Regions from separate parts of the Homo sapiens genome. Here regions 1, 2 and 4 are each linked to region 3. The links are contacts of gene promoters, found by promoter capture Hi-C in human tissues and cell types (Jung and others, 2019). All regions are on one chromosome and are shown on one strand. Each heading gives the region's core, a stretch centred on a gene start or on the middle of the fragment in contact. The rest is flanking DNA. Distances are from core to core; before and after follow the strand shown. Region 1 has its middle 53 kb from the start of LINC01665. Region 2 has its middle 34 kb from the start of LINC01665. Region 3 holds the start of CCT8L2 (chaperonin containing TCP1 subunit 8 like 2). Region 4 has its middle 74 kb from the start of CCT8L2.

Evidence for each region. Contacts are between HindIII fragments. The study calls those that stand out against the background at their distance.
Region 1: a contact is called between a fragment that was not itself captured here and the fragment with the promoter of CCT8L2 in region 3, in 4 of the 25 tissues and cell types used here (H1 embryonic stem cells, dorsolateral prefrontal cortex, lymphoblastoid cells and 1 more).
Region 2: a contact is called between a fragment that was not itself captured here and the fragment with the promoter of CCT8L2 in region 3, in 3 of the 25 tissues and cell types used here (H1 embryonic stem cells, dorsolateral prefrontal cortex and mesendoderm cells).
Region 4: a contact is called between a fragment that was not itself captured here and the fragment with the promoter of CCT8L2 in region 3, in 4 of the 25 tissues and cell types used here (dorsolateral prefrontal cortex, heart left ventricle, lymphoblastoid cells and 1 more).

The regions. Positions count from the first base shown.
Region 1 is chr22:16,694,217-16,696,916 of GRCh38, forward strand. It overlaps the pseudogene VWFP1. Among named protein-coding and RNA genes, the nearest start is that of LINC01665, 53 kb to the right of the region's middle. The HindIII fragment of the contact is 3,702 bases long and covers 1-2,700 here.
Region 2 is chr22:16,713,316-16,716,015 of GRCh38, forward strand. No RefSeq gene overlaps it. Among named protein-coding and RNA genes, the nearest start is that of LINC01665, 34 kb to the right of the region's middle. The HindIII fragment of the contact is 4,386 bases long and covers 1-2,700 here.
Region 3 is chr22:16,591,493-16,594,192 of GRCh38, forward strand. CCT8L2 (chaperonin containing TCP1 subunit 8 like 2) reads right to left here and starts at 1,318. Exons shown (of 1, transcript NM_014406.5): 1 at 1-1,318. The coding sequence starts at 1,058. The HindIII fragment of the contact is 16,456 bases long and covers 1-2,700 here.
Region 4 is chr22:16,517,957-16,520,656 of GRCh38, forward strand. No RefSeq gene overlaps it. Among named protein-coding and RNA genes, the nearest start is that of CCT8L2, 74 kb to the right of the region's middle. The HindIII fragment of the contact is 4,273 bases long and covers 1-2,700 here.

The DNA.
Region 1 (2,700 bases), core at 76-2,575, 100 kb after region 3:
GCCCCACAATGAATCACTCTGGCCTCAGACATGACATTTTAGTAAGAGACCACGAATCCTACTTTAGAAAGAAAGGGCATAGAGGTATGATCACTCCTGGACACAAAGGGAAAATGTGGAGAAATTAAAGGGTTATAATTAGTTATAAAGATATAGGATCAACACACACTTATTATTGTTTGGTTTCCTAATCACATCGTGATTGGATAATTTCCTGCTGTTTGAAACCAGGACAGAGGTTGGTACTGAGCATATTTAATATCAGCCACAACATCCAAAAGTAACCCCAGGCCACTTTTAATCCTCTATCATTTCTGAAGTCTCGCTCTCCTGAATTGAGGACTGTACACCAGATTCTTACTGTTGGACCTGGCGGCATCAGCTGCTGCATCCACTGAATCCACAGAGACATCCGTGACCAGGATGACCACCGCCTTCGAGGCTCCCGGCCTGGCACCATGCATTTCTGAAGTCAAGTGTCGCACAGCAAAGCCCAAGGCATCCCCTGAGGATGGAGAACAGATCACACCAAGTCAGTACTGACTGCGGCTGGACACCCTGTCTCACGGTGGATCCTTAAGTCACTTAAAAGCTGAATGATTCAGAGACTCCAAGGAACACCCAGTTGAGATCTGGAGAGACGTGGAAGAGCATCTAGCCCCTCACTTTCCAGGAGAAGAAACTAAGGCCAAGGAGCAAAGTGACTGGCCGAGGTCACACAGTCACTTATGCCAAAAATAAGAACCAGAATGCAGCTTCTGCATCCAGCCTGTGGCACCAACGTTACCGATTTGGCTGGGGCCTCCCTCCCGCTGCATGACGTCCACAAGGCTCAGCAAATGGGCTTTCTCCGGGGCCACGTTCCATGGCACGTCAATGGTGGTGATGCTTCCATACTGGAGCACTGACCCCTGAGTGAGAGGAGGCCCTAAACGGAACAAGAAAATGGGGATTATTCTGAATCAAGTGGAGCCCCAAAAAGAGCCTCTTCGTCACCTGCTGCTTCAGGTGCCTCACTCACTCACCTATATTGGCTTTTGAAATGAAAGCCTTAGCAAAACTCTTCATTTCATCAAAAGAAGAAGCTGGGAAACTGGAGGAGCCATCCAGGAGAAGGATCACGTCCAGGGGCTGGCTGCAGTCTGCAAAGATAACCAGGAAGGTGAGCACACAGGTGCCAGCAGGGGCACTGGCCGCCAGGCCTACAACCTGACATCCCATAGGATCTGCAGGGCGTGCTGACCACGTGGCACCACCAAGGGGGGCGGGGGCTGCCTTTGTGAGTGCAAGGGCAACGTGGGCCAGGGAGGAGGGGATAGGGGAGATGGAGTTCCTGGGGCTGGACTACCTCAGGTTTGGAGACACTGAGAAGCCTCCAGTTCTACCCAAAGGAAGCTTAAATGTCTACAAATAAAAGCAGTAGGCATGGGCTTCCTCGGTAAGAAGGGGCCGCCACTCTTCTAGAAATGAGTAAAATACTGGCCTGGCAATACAAGACTGCAAAAGGAAATGGAGCGGCAGCCCCTCCCTGGACAATGAGCTGCTGTGTCCTCAGATCTTGCAAGGCAGGTGAACGTACTGTGATTCTTCCAGCTATAAATGCCTAGTGCTCCTGTTAGTGTCTGAGCACATCTGAGATTTGATGAAATGATGTAATTGTTGTTTTCCTCAGCAGAAATATTACAAGAATTTAAATAAATCTATGGCCATGAATAAAAACAAAAACAAAGAAACAAAAGTACTGACAAGTGTGAGACTCAAAAGATACTAAAAGAAGGCTTATTATTCTGAGATGGTCCCAAACACACCGAATAAAGATGTTCAGGAACTAGGAATGGATTAGACACCAGTGTCAGTAAAAGGTAGTAATAACAGCAGTGGGAGCAAGCATTTTTTTTGAGCACTGTCATGTGCCAGATACTATTTTAAGCAAGTAGGTGCTATTATTATCCCCATTTTATAGATGAGGAGACTGATATACAAAGAGGTTAAGTATTTGCCCAAAATTACCCAGCTAGCAAGTGGCAGAGATAAGATTCAAACTAAGGCAGACACTGACTCCAGTGTCTGAAGACTGCACCTGCTACCTGGCACCTGACATCCTGGTCTCGCCCTGAAGAATGTCAGCTACTCAGAATAATTTCACCCACCCAGTGTGGTCAAAACGAAGCTTATCATCATCACCTTTAACAGAGGTTACCTTGAAGGTGGAGGGTGGAATTGGGTGGGGAAGAGGCCGTGTGATAAAGTAAGACTTGCATATTTTTTTTTTTACTCCTTAGTGGCATTGTTTAAATGTTAACAATAGGCTTCCATTACCTTTGAATTTACAGAAGCACACACAATAAGAAAAGATCTTCCCCCGCAAAAGGATCACAGTTTGTCTCCCTGCCAGGGAGGTGAGGAAACACAGGCCCTTTGAAGGCAAGTTTCAACCAAGGGCACACAGACCAGGGAAGCCAGGATTAGAACCCAAGTCATATCTTGGCAGATGCATGTAGTACCAAGGCCATGCCAGCCCTCGCCCAGCCCTCCCACCTGCACACAAGGTGCCAGCATACCAGGGGCAGGGGAGCGGGTGGGGATCTGCAGCCCCTCTCCGGAGCAGCACCTCTGCAGCACCAGGTCAGGAGCCTCTCAGGGGAGCGTCTCAAAGTCCTGGATGAGGATGGGGGCATTGGGCCAGCCGATCCTCTCCAG
Region 2 (2,700 bases), core at 57-2,556, 120 kb after region 3:
CATTCTGTTGCCCACCATGTGAGCTGCCATGTTGGTATAATACCTTGATCATTTGATATTTTAATACAGCAAATAATAGTGATCCCCCCAAAATAATAAATAAATAAATAAATCAGTGAGTTTCAAGGAAATAAATTGTTTGATGGATCAGATAATTTGAAGTTGTTAGTTTGTTCTCTATCAAGGTGAACGAAGATGAAAACTAAAGTTCTCAAGGCCAGTGCATACATCAGTCACCATTACCAAATATCTTGACACCTATATTGCCAAATATTTCATGTACCGCTTTAGTGGTGATTAATCAATGTGCCATGGCACTGAAACTGAAACAAGACTTTGTAGTACAAGTGATATTCAAAGGGTTTTGAAAATTTATCAGCCCTATAGATATAGATGAAAATTTATCATCTATATCTATCTAGAAATACTGTTTTTATAAATGTTACCTATCCAAATATTGGTTTTATTTACTTAATATTTAGAAAACATGAGTTTAGTAAAAATTGTTCAGATTTTCTTAATGTAGTGTGTGAAATTACTATGTAATTATACAAGAAATATGCTACACAGCTGAATATACAAATAGGCCAGCAGAGGTAGCAAAAGGTGCCCTTCAGTGTTATTATCTCCCCTATAATCTTCAGCAACATCACCCGCTCTTCTCTCTACACCACTGATGTATGTTATCTAAATCAAGTTCTGTGCAAATGCCACCTCAACATGAGTCCTCTAGCCTTGCCTTCTTATCAGAATGCAGCTTGCAAGCCCCAATATGTAATTCTAGAGCCACCTCTGAAAAATACACACTTGTTGCAAGTATTGAAAAGCCTCATATTGCAAATTCAGAATTTACAATATTGAAAAAATTAATAATTTTTTTAAAAAGTTACAATACTGTGAACTATATAAAATGAATTGTGCTGGGATCAGATGACTCTCTTCATTCCAGCCTATCTTATATTTTCTCATTAATTTCTCCATATAGTCACAACTAACAACAACAGACTCACTATTACATTTCATTAATTGGCTATTTTATAATAAATGATCTCAATAGCATTTCTGAACTGTCTGCTGTTCTGGTTTTACATAATTCTTGAATTTTTGAATGAGTTAGTTTTTTATTGAAAAAGACCTGACTCTTATGCTTAGAAAAGCCATCATTTCTTTCTGTAAGCTTTCTATCTTCTATAAGCTTTACATGTTCCATAAGCAAACATTCACTGGTTTTGTGATCAAACTAGAGAGGCAAATTCAGTTAATAATAACAACGTCATTTATCATCCTCAAATCTAGTGTTATGGATAATATGATTTCCACAAGGAGATGGTTGCATGAGCGACAAGAGAAAGACAATCAACAGTCTTTTACTCATACCAAGATATGTGCACACACACTTGTTTCCACAGTCAAAGTAATGCCATATGTCCCCAGTGATGTGGGTGGGCAAAAGGAACAGTTGGCCTGCTAATGAGGGCCATATGTACACGCAGCCTATCATACCATCCTTCTTACTTATGGTTGCTGAAAACTCAGTTGAAGTGCTTGCTCTGAGGAATAGCATGGCTGGAGGAGGGGAGGCTTCCTTAATAGCAGGAAAGGACCATTTGTTGTACAACTACTGTATCTCTGAAACTGGGAGCTAAAAATATGCATGTACAATACTCATTCTCATTAAGAGTTACTTAAGCATCAGTAGAGTTCTTTATTCCAGTTTCACCTTATTTCACTAAATTCTTTTGCATTTATGTGCAAAGGGATCTTTGGCCCTTTTCAAAAATTACCTTTCATAATCAATCTTGTTAATTTGATGTTCAGTTACACCAACCTCTCTTTATTTTTAGCTTGATCTTCAGAAAATTTATACTTTCTTTGACATTGTTAAATGTTACAATATTAAAAGAAATGAAAAAGACTTAAAAACTTAGAATATTTGAATGAGGGTTGCTGGAAGGCAGAGAGAGCAATAAGGCAAAAGTACTTACTTACTGCACTACTGTTCCAAAGTAAAAAAAAAAAACGAAGATTTTAAAAATGATTATAGCAGCTTTGTATCTCAACCAGGGTTTCCTTTGAAATTTCTACAACTGCAAACACTATTCAGCAATTTACACTGATTATAAAATTTATTGTTTTAAGGTCAATTGTGATACTGTGATCAGATAATAAAATTTACTTTACTCTTAATGGCTTCATTTTGACAAATGAGGGAGCTTTTAGGAAGGACAATGCCCCCTGCACAACAACCAGTTAAGCATGTCACATCCATTTACAATATAATTTTAAGAAAAATGAAGGACAAACTACTTGTGAGGCAGCAAGAATTCATTTGCATTAAATTAATTTGAACAGGGCATTTCAAGTTCTCTCTGGCAACGACGGAATAAAGGGGAAAACGAATCTATCTTATGCAACGATCCTCTTCTAGGTTACAGAAAGATTTGAAAGGCTGACATGATCATTGTTAAATTTCTTCTAGAAGTCTATGATTAGTATCATAGATAAAACTCATGAGATAAAATATTCACAATGAATGTTTGTGAACTGCATCAATTATTATGGAACTACTGTCTAACATCCCTTTGAAAATTGATATTCTGCAAAGGTTAAAAAAACACCAACCTTTCTGTGCTTTCTTATATGGATGAGGTTTTGTAAACAAGAACTAAGCTTCACAAATAAGCACTATGGAAGATAATG
Region 3 (2,700 bases), core at 68-2,567:
TGCCTGTAAACCCTCTGGCACTTGCCTGGCCTCTGGGGAGGGAGCAGACGAGGCAGCAGAGGTGTGTCCAACACCTCACTCAGGTAAATGATCTCCATCCAAGACCTAGCTTGAATCACCACGATGCCATACTTGTCCGCCAGTGTGAGGGTCTCCTCGTCGACCTCCCCCAACACCACTGCCACATTAATTCCTGCAGCTGCTAGCTGGCCTACTTGCTTTTCTAGTAATTGATCGCTTCCTTTACTAAATTGAGCTAGATCAGCAGGACTAGAAAGACGGGCCGTTGCTGGTGCATTTGGATGGGCAGGACCAAAGGGGCAAGCAAAGAGAGCCACCCTGGCACCACTTAACACTGTGGCCATTTGCCCACAGAGCTTCCCAGATATTGCTAACCCCGGGAGGAGGCAGGAATCCTCCAGTGTCCCCCCGGGCAGCGCGCACACCCCAACACGCTCAGGCTTGAAGCTGCCGTCTAGTTCCTTGATAGCCCAGCAGGCGTGGGCCACCAGCTTGGTCAAGTGGTCCATGGGGGACAGGGTGTGGGTATTCATCACAGAATGGAGGGCCCAGGATGGATCTTCCAAAGGCCCCAGAGATTGGATGGCCAGGGAGGGCAGTGTGGCCAGGACCTCTGCAGTGGCCGTGGCGTAGGCCTCCCGGAGCTGCGGGCGAGGCAGGCCAGCCTTCAGCAGCTGCTCTGCCTGTTCCAGCAAGGCTTCCGTCAGCAGAACCACGAAGGCTGTGCCGTCCCCACTATTCTCTGCCTGGGTTTGTCCTGCTTCCCGGAGGAGCCATGCTGCTGGGTGCTCCAGCTCCAGGGCCCTGAGGATGGCAGTGGCACACCCCGTGCACACTGTTTCTCCTTTCATGGTCACCAGGAACTTCTGCCGGCCGTGGGGGCCATAGCAAGGCCGGATGACACTGGCCAGGGTCTGGACTGCAGCCAAGCTGCTCAGCAGGTGGGGCTCCTCCTCTTCTGGACTCCTCGGGCTCTCCCTTGGGTTCAGTGCCAGCCGCTGGGGCAGCTCCAGGGCTGAAGGGACTGTGCTGTCCATGGCCCGCAGAGAGAGGAGAGGCCACCGTGGGTTGCAGAGATGCTCTAGAAACAGCAGCTGGGGCACTCCTGACACCGATCGTTGAAAGTACTCAAGAGGTCAGTGGAAGCAAGGAGCCAAATGCCCATTGATTGGTATCTGAAGACATCAGCACGGACCAGCACTCCACTGTGGGTCCAAGGATGAGCTCCAAAGAGCCCAGTCCTAAAGCCACCCCAGGGTTGATTCTGTAAAGGAACTGGGTCTTGGGGCCTCTCAACCTTGGTGGCTGAAATGGGATCTTTAACTGATGAAGTCACAAAGTGGAAAATGGAACCAGGATAGAGAATGAGGTCACAGAAGGCTGGTTAGAACTGAGGAGGCCCTACCAGCAGGCAAAAGTCAGGCCTTGTCCAGCAATGGAGGTACATGCACCTCTGCACCAGGTTTGAGACTTGTTTAAACGTAAGAGACAATGAGGAGGAGATCAAGTGAAAAACTACCCATTTCACCCTATCTGGAGTGCAGGGGCATAACCATGGTTCACTGCAGGCCCAGCTCCCTGGTCTCAAGCAGTCCTCCTGCTCAGGTTCCCAAGTACCTGGGACTACAGGCACACACCACCACACCTAGCTAGTTTTTTTATTTTTTGTAGAGACAGTGTTTCTGTCTGTTGTCCAGGCAGGTCTCGAATTCCTAGCCTCAAGAGAGCCTTCCACCTTGGCCTCCCAAAGTGCTAGGACTACAGGTGTGAGCCACCACCTCACCCACCCTTTTTTTTTTTTTTTTTTTGAGACAGAGTCACACTCTGTTGCCCAGGCTGGAGTGCAGTGGTACAATCTTAGCTCACTGCAACCTCCACCTCCCAGGTTCAAGCAGTTCTCCTGCCTCAGCCTCTCAGTAGCTGGGATTACAGGTGCCAGCCACCACGCCCGGCTAATTTTTTATATTTTTAGTAGAGATAGGGGGATTTCACCATGTTGGCCATGGTTGGCCAGGTTAGTCTCAAACTCCTGGCCTCAAGTGATCCGCCCACCTCGGCCTCCAAAAGTGCTGGGATTACAGGTGTGAGCCACTGCACCTGGCCTTTTTTTTTTATTTGAGAAGGAACTGAGAGATGATGTCTGTGTTTTGTTTTGTTTTGGTGTTACTTTCTCTTGCAGTACTGTGTAATATTAGCCATGTTTTGCTGTCTGCCTTTGACTTTTTGGGTATCTTATCAGTTTGTGCTTGTGTATCAGGTTTCTTAGGGTGTCTGTTGGTCTTTCAGGGTGCAGGTGTGGGAGGCTGCACAGCGTGCATGCCTGTGCCACGACTCCCAACTCTGCCTCCCTGGCAGAGGCAGGGCAAGACAAGTGGGGAAGGATGCTGACAGCTCACAGACAAATAGAAGTGAACCCAGAGGGGTGAAAAGCAACCAGCCTCCCAGCGGTCAGGGAGGTAGAAGCCTAAATGGGGTCCTGAGATTTAAATGCGAATCGCCTTCCCATCCTAACCTTCAATGCTTACAATTTAAGTCTCTTTTTTTCATTCTCTCTCCTTTCCTCACTTGTCTCCTCTTTCCTCCTATAGAGCCTACTCGGGTAATGATGCTTCTGCTTTAGTTTAACACATATTTAGTCTGGGCGTGGTGGCTCATGCATGTAATCCCTGCACGTTGGGA
Region 4 (2,700 bases), core at 127-2,626, 73 kb before region 3:
ACCAGTGAAACTCAGCTTTGTGTGTGCCAGGCATTGGGCCCTGGGATATGCAGTCATGTGTTGTATAATGACATTTTAGTCAATGACAAACCACACGTAAGTCAGTGGTACCATAAGATGATTATGGAGCTGAAAAATTCCTATTGCTTAGTGACATAGCCATTGTAATGTTAGGGTAATGCATTTCTGTGTTTCTGGTGATGCTGGTGTAAACAAATCTGTGCTGCCAGTTCTATAAAAGCATAGCATGTACAATTACGTACAATATATAATACTTGATAATGAACAACTATGTTACTGATTTATTTTTTTGAGACAGAGTCTTGCTCTGTCGCACAGGCTGGAGTGCAGTGGCGTGATCTTGGCTCACTGCAACTTCTGCCTCACAGGTTGAAGCGATTCTTCTGCCTCAGCCTCCTGAGTAGCAGGGAATACAGGCACTCACCACCAAGGCCAGCTAATCTTTGTATTTTTAGCAGAGATGGGGTTTCACCACACTGCCCAGGCTGGTCTCAAACTCCTGACCTCAAATGATCTGCCCTCCTCAGCCTCCCGAAGTGCTGGGATTACCCACATGAGACACTGTGCCCAGCCCTGGTGTATTTAGTGTTTTTCATAATTTTAGAATGTATGTCTTCTACTTACATTAAAAAGTAGTTAACTATAAAACAGCCTCAGGCAGGTCCTTCAGGAAGTATTCTGGAAGAAGAAGGCATTGTTATCAGAGGAGATGACAGCTCCATGCGTGTAATTGCCCAGGCTGGAGTGCAGTGGCATGATCTCGGCTCACTGCAACCTCCGCCTCCTGGGTTCAAGCAATTCTCCTCCGTCAGTCTCCTGAGTAGCTGGGATTACAGGTGCACACCACCATGCCTGGCTAAGTTTTGTATTTTTAGTAGAGATGAGGGTTTCACCATGTTGGCCAGGATGGTCTCGAACTCCTGACCTCAAATGATCTGCCTGCCTCGGCCTCCCAAAGTGCTGGGATTACAGGTGTGAGACACCACGACTGGCAATATTTTTTAAGATACATTTCAGTAAGCTAAGGTTAATTTATTGAAGAAAAGCTTTAAAAATTTTTGGTGTAGCCTAAGCATATGGTGTTTATAAAGTCTACAGTAGTGTACAGTAAGGTCCTATGCCTTCACACTCACTGACTCACCACAGCATCTTCCAGTCCTGCAAGCTCCTTTCATGGTAAGTGCCCTATACAGGAGTACCATTTTAAAATCTCTCATACTCCATTCTTACTGTACCTTCTCTATGTTCAGGTACACAAGTACTTACATTGTGTTACAACTGCTTATGGTATATTCAGTAAAGTATCAGGCTGTACAGGTGTGTAGCCTAGGAGCAATAGGCTACGCCATACAGCCTAGGTGTTTAGTAGGCTATACAAGGCTATACAAGGTTTGTGTAAATGCACTCTGCTGTTTGCACAATGCTGCAATCACCTAAGGAGTCATTTCTCAGAACCATCCCGTGATTAAGAGAGGCATGATCATACAGTCCTCATCTCCCTGAAAGCTCAGTCAACCCTGTGCAGTGCTACTGCCACACTCCCCTTTCGCACATGTAGAAATCAAGGATCTTTGGCTCCTCTGAGTGACTTGTTCAAGGTTTCTCAGTTTCCAAAAGATGGAGGCGGGACTTGAATTGAGATTTCCCTTTCTTGAGAACCTGTGGTCCTTAACCATTAAAACCACTTAAGAGGTCTTCTCTCTTGATCACTACCTACTAAGCGCTAGGCGCGGTGCTGAGACGTTCTCTTGATTATCATATTGAGTCTTTAGATTTAGGAGAAACAGGCCGAGCGCGCTGGCTCACGCCTGTAATCTCAGCACTTTGGGAGGCCGAGGTAGGAAGATCACAAGGTCAGGAGATGGAGACCATTCTGGCTAACACGGTGAAACCCCACCTCTACTAAAAATACAAAAATTAGCAGGCGGTGGCGGGCGCCTGTAGTCTCAGCTGCTCGGGAAGCTGAGGCAGGAGAATGGCATGAATCGGGGAGGCGGAGCTTGCAGTGAGCCGAGATCGCACCACAGCACTCCAGCCTGGGTGACAGAGCGAGACTGTCTCAAAAAAAAAAAAAAAATTTAGGAGAAACAAGTCCCGAAGCCCTGACCCTAACACGCAAGGGTTAGTGGAGATGTGGGGCTTGAACTCAGCTTCTCCGTTGAGTCTGGCTGTCTCCGGGACGCAGGCACGTGCTTGCACACCTCCATGGTGGCGATCCCGCCCCCTTAGTAGCGTCCTTAGCTCCGCACTTCTTGCAGGGAAGTTCCTCTTGGCCCAGACCCTCGTCCTAGGCCCCGCGTCGTGGGGGAAGCGAAAGGGGCAGTGTGGGGAAGTGGCCGAGGGGTCGGGTGCGGGATGGTCTGCAGAGAGGCAGGCGGCGGTGCGGAGCCGGGAACCACGCGCTCACCCTCCAAGTCGGACGGGCCCGGCGGGGGTGGGCGAGACACTGGGAACAGCGGCCAGCTCCAGAGGGCGCGAGGCGGGCCGCGCGGGGAGGGGTGGCGCGCGCGGTTGGGGGGCAGTGAGGGTCGCCGCGGCGGCGCGCAGCACGGCGGGAACATGGCGCGCGAAACTGGCGCGCGCGCCTAGCTGGCGGGACCCTTAGCTCCAGGTGGACGCGGCCCGGACCCCGTGGATATGGAGCAGTCGCCGCCCCCGGCGCCCGAGCCGACCCAAGGG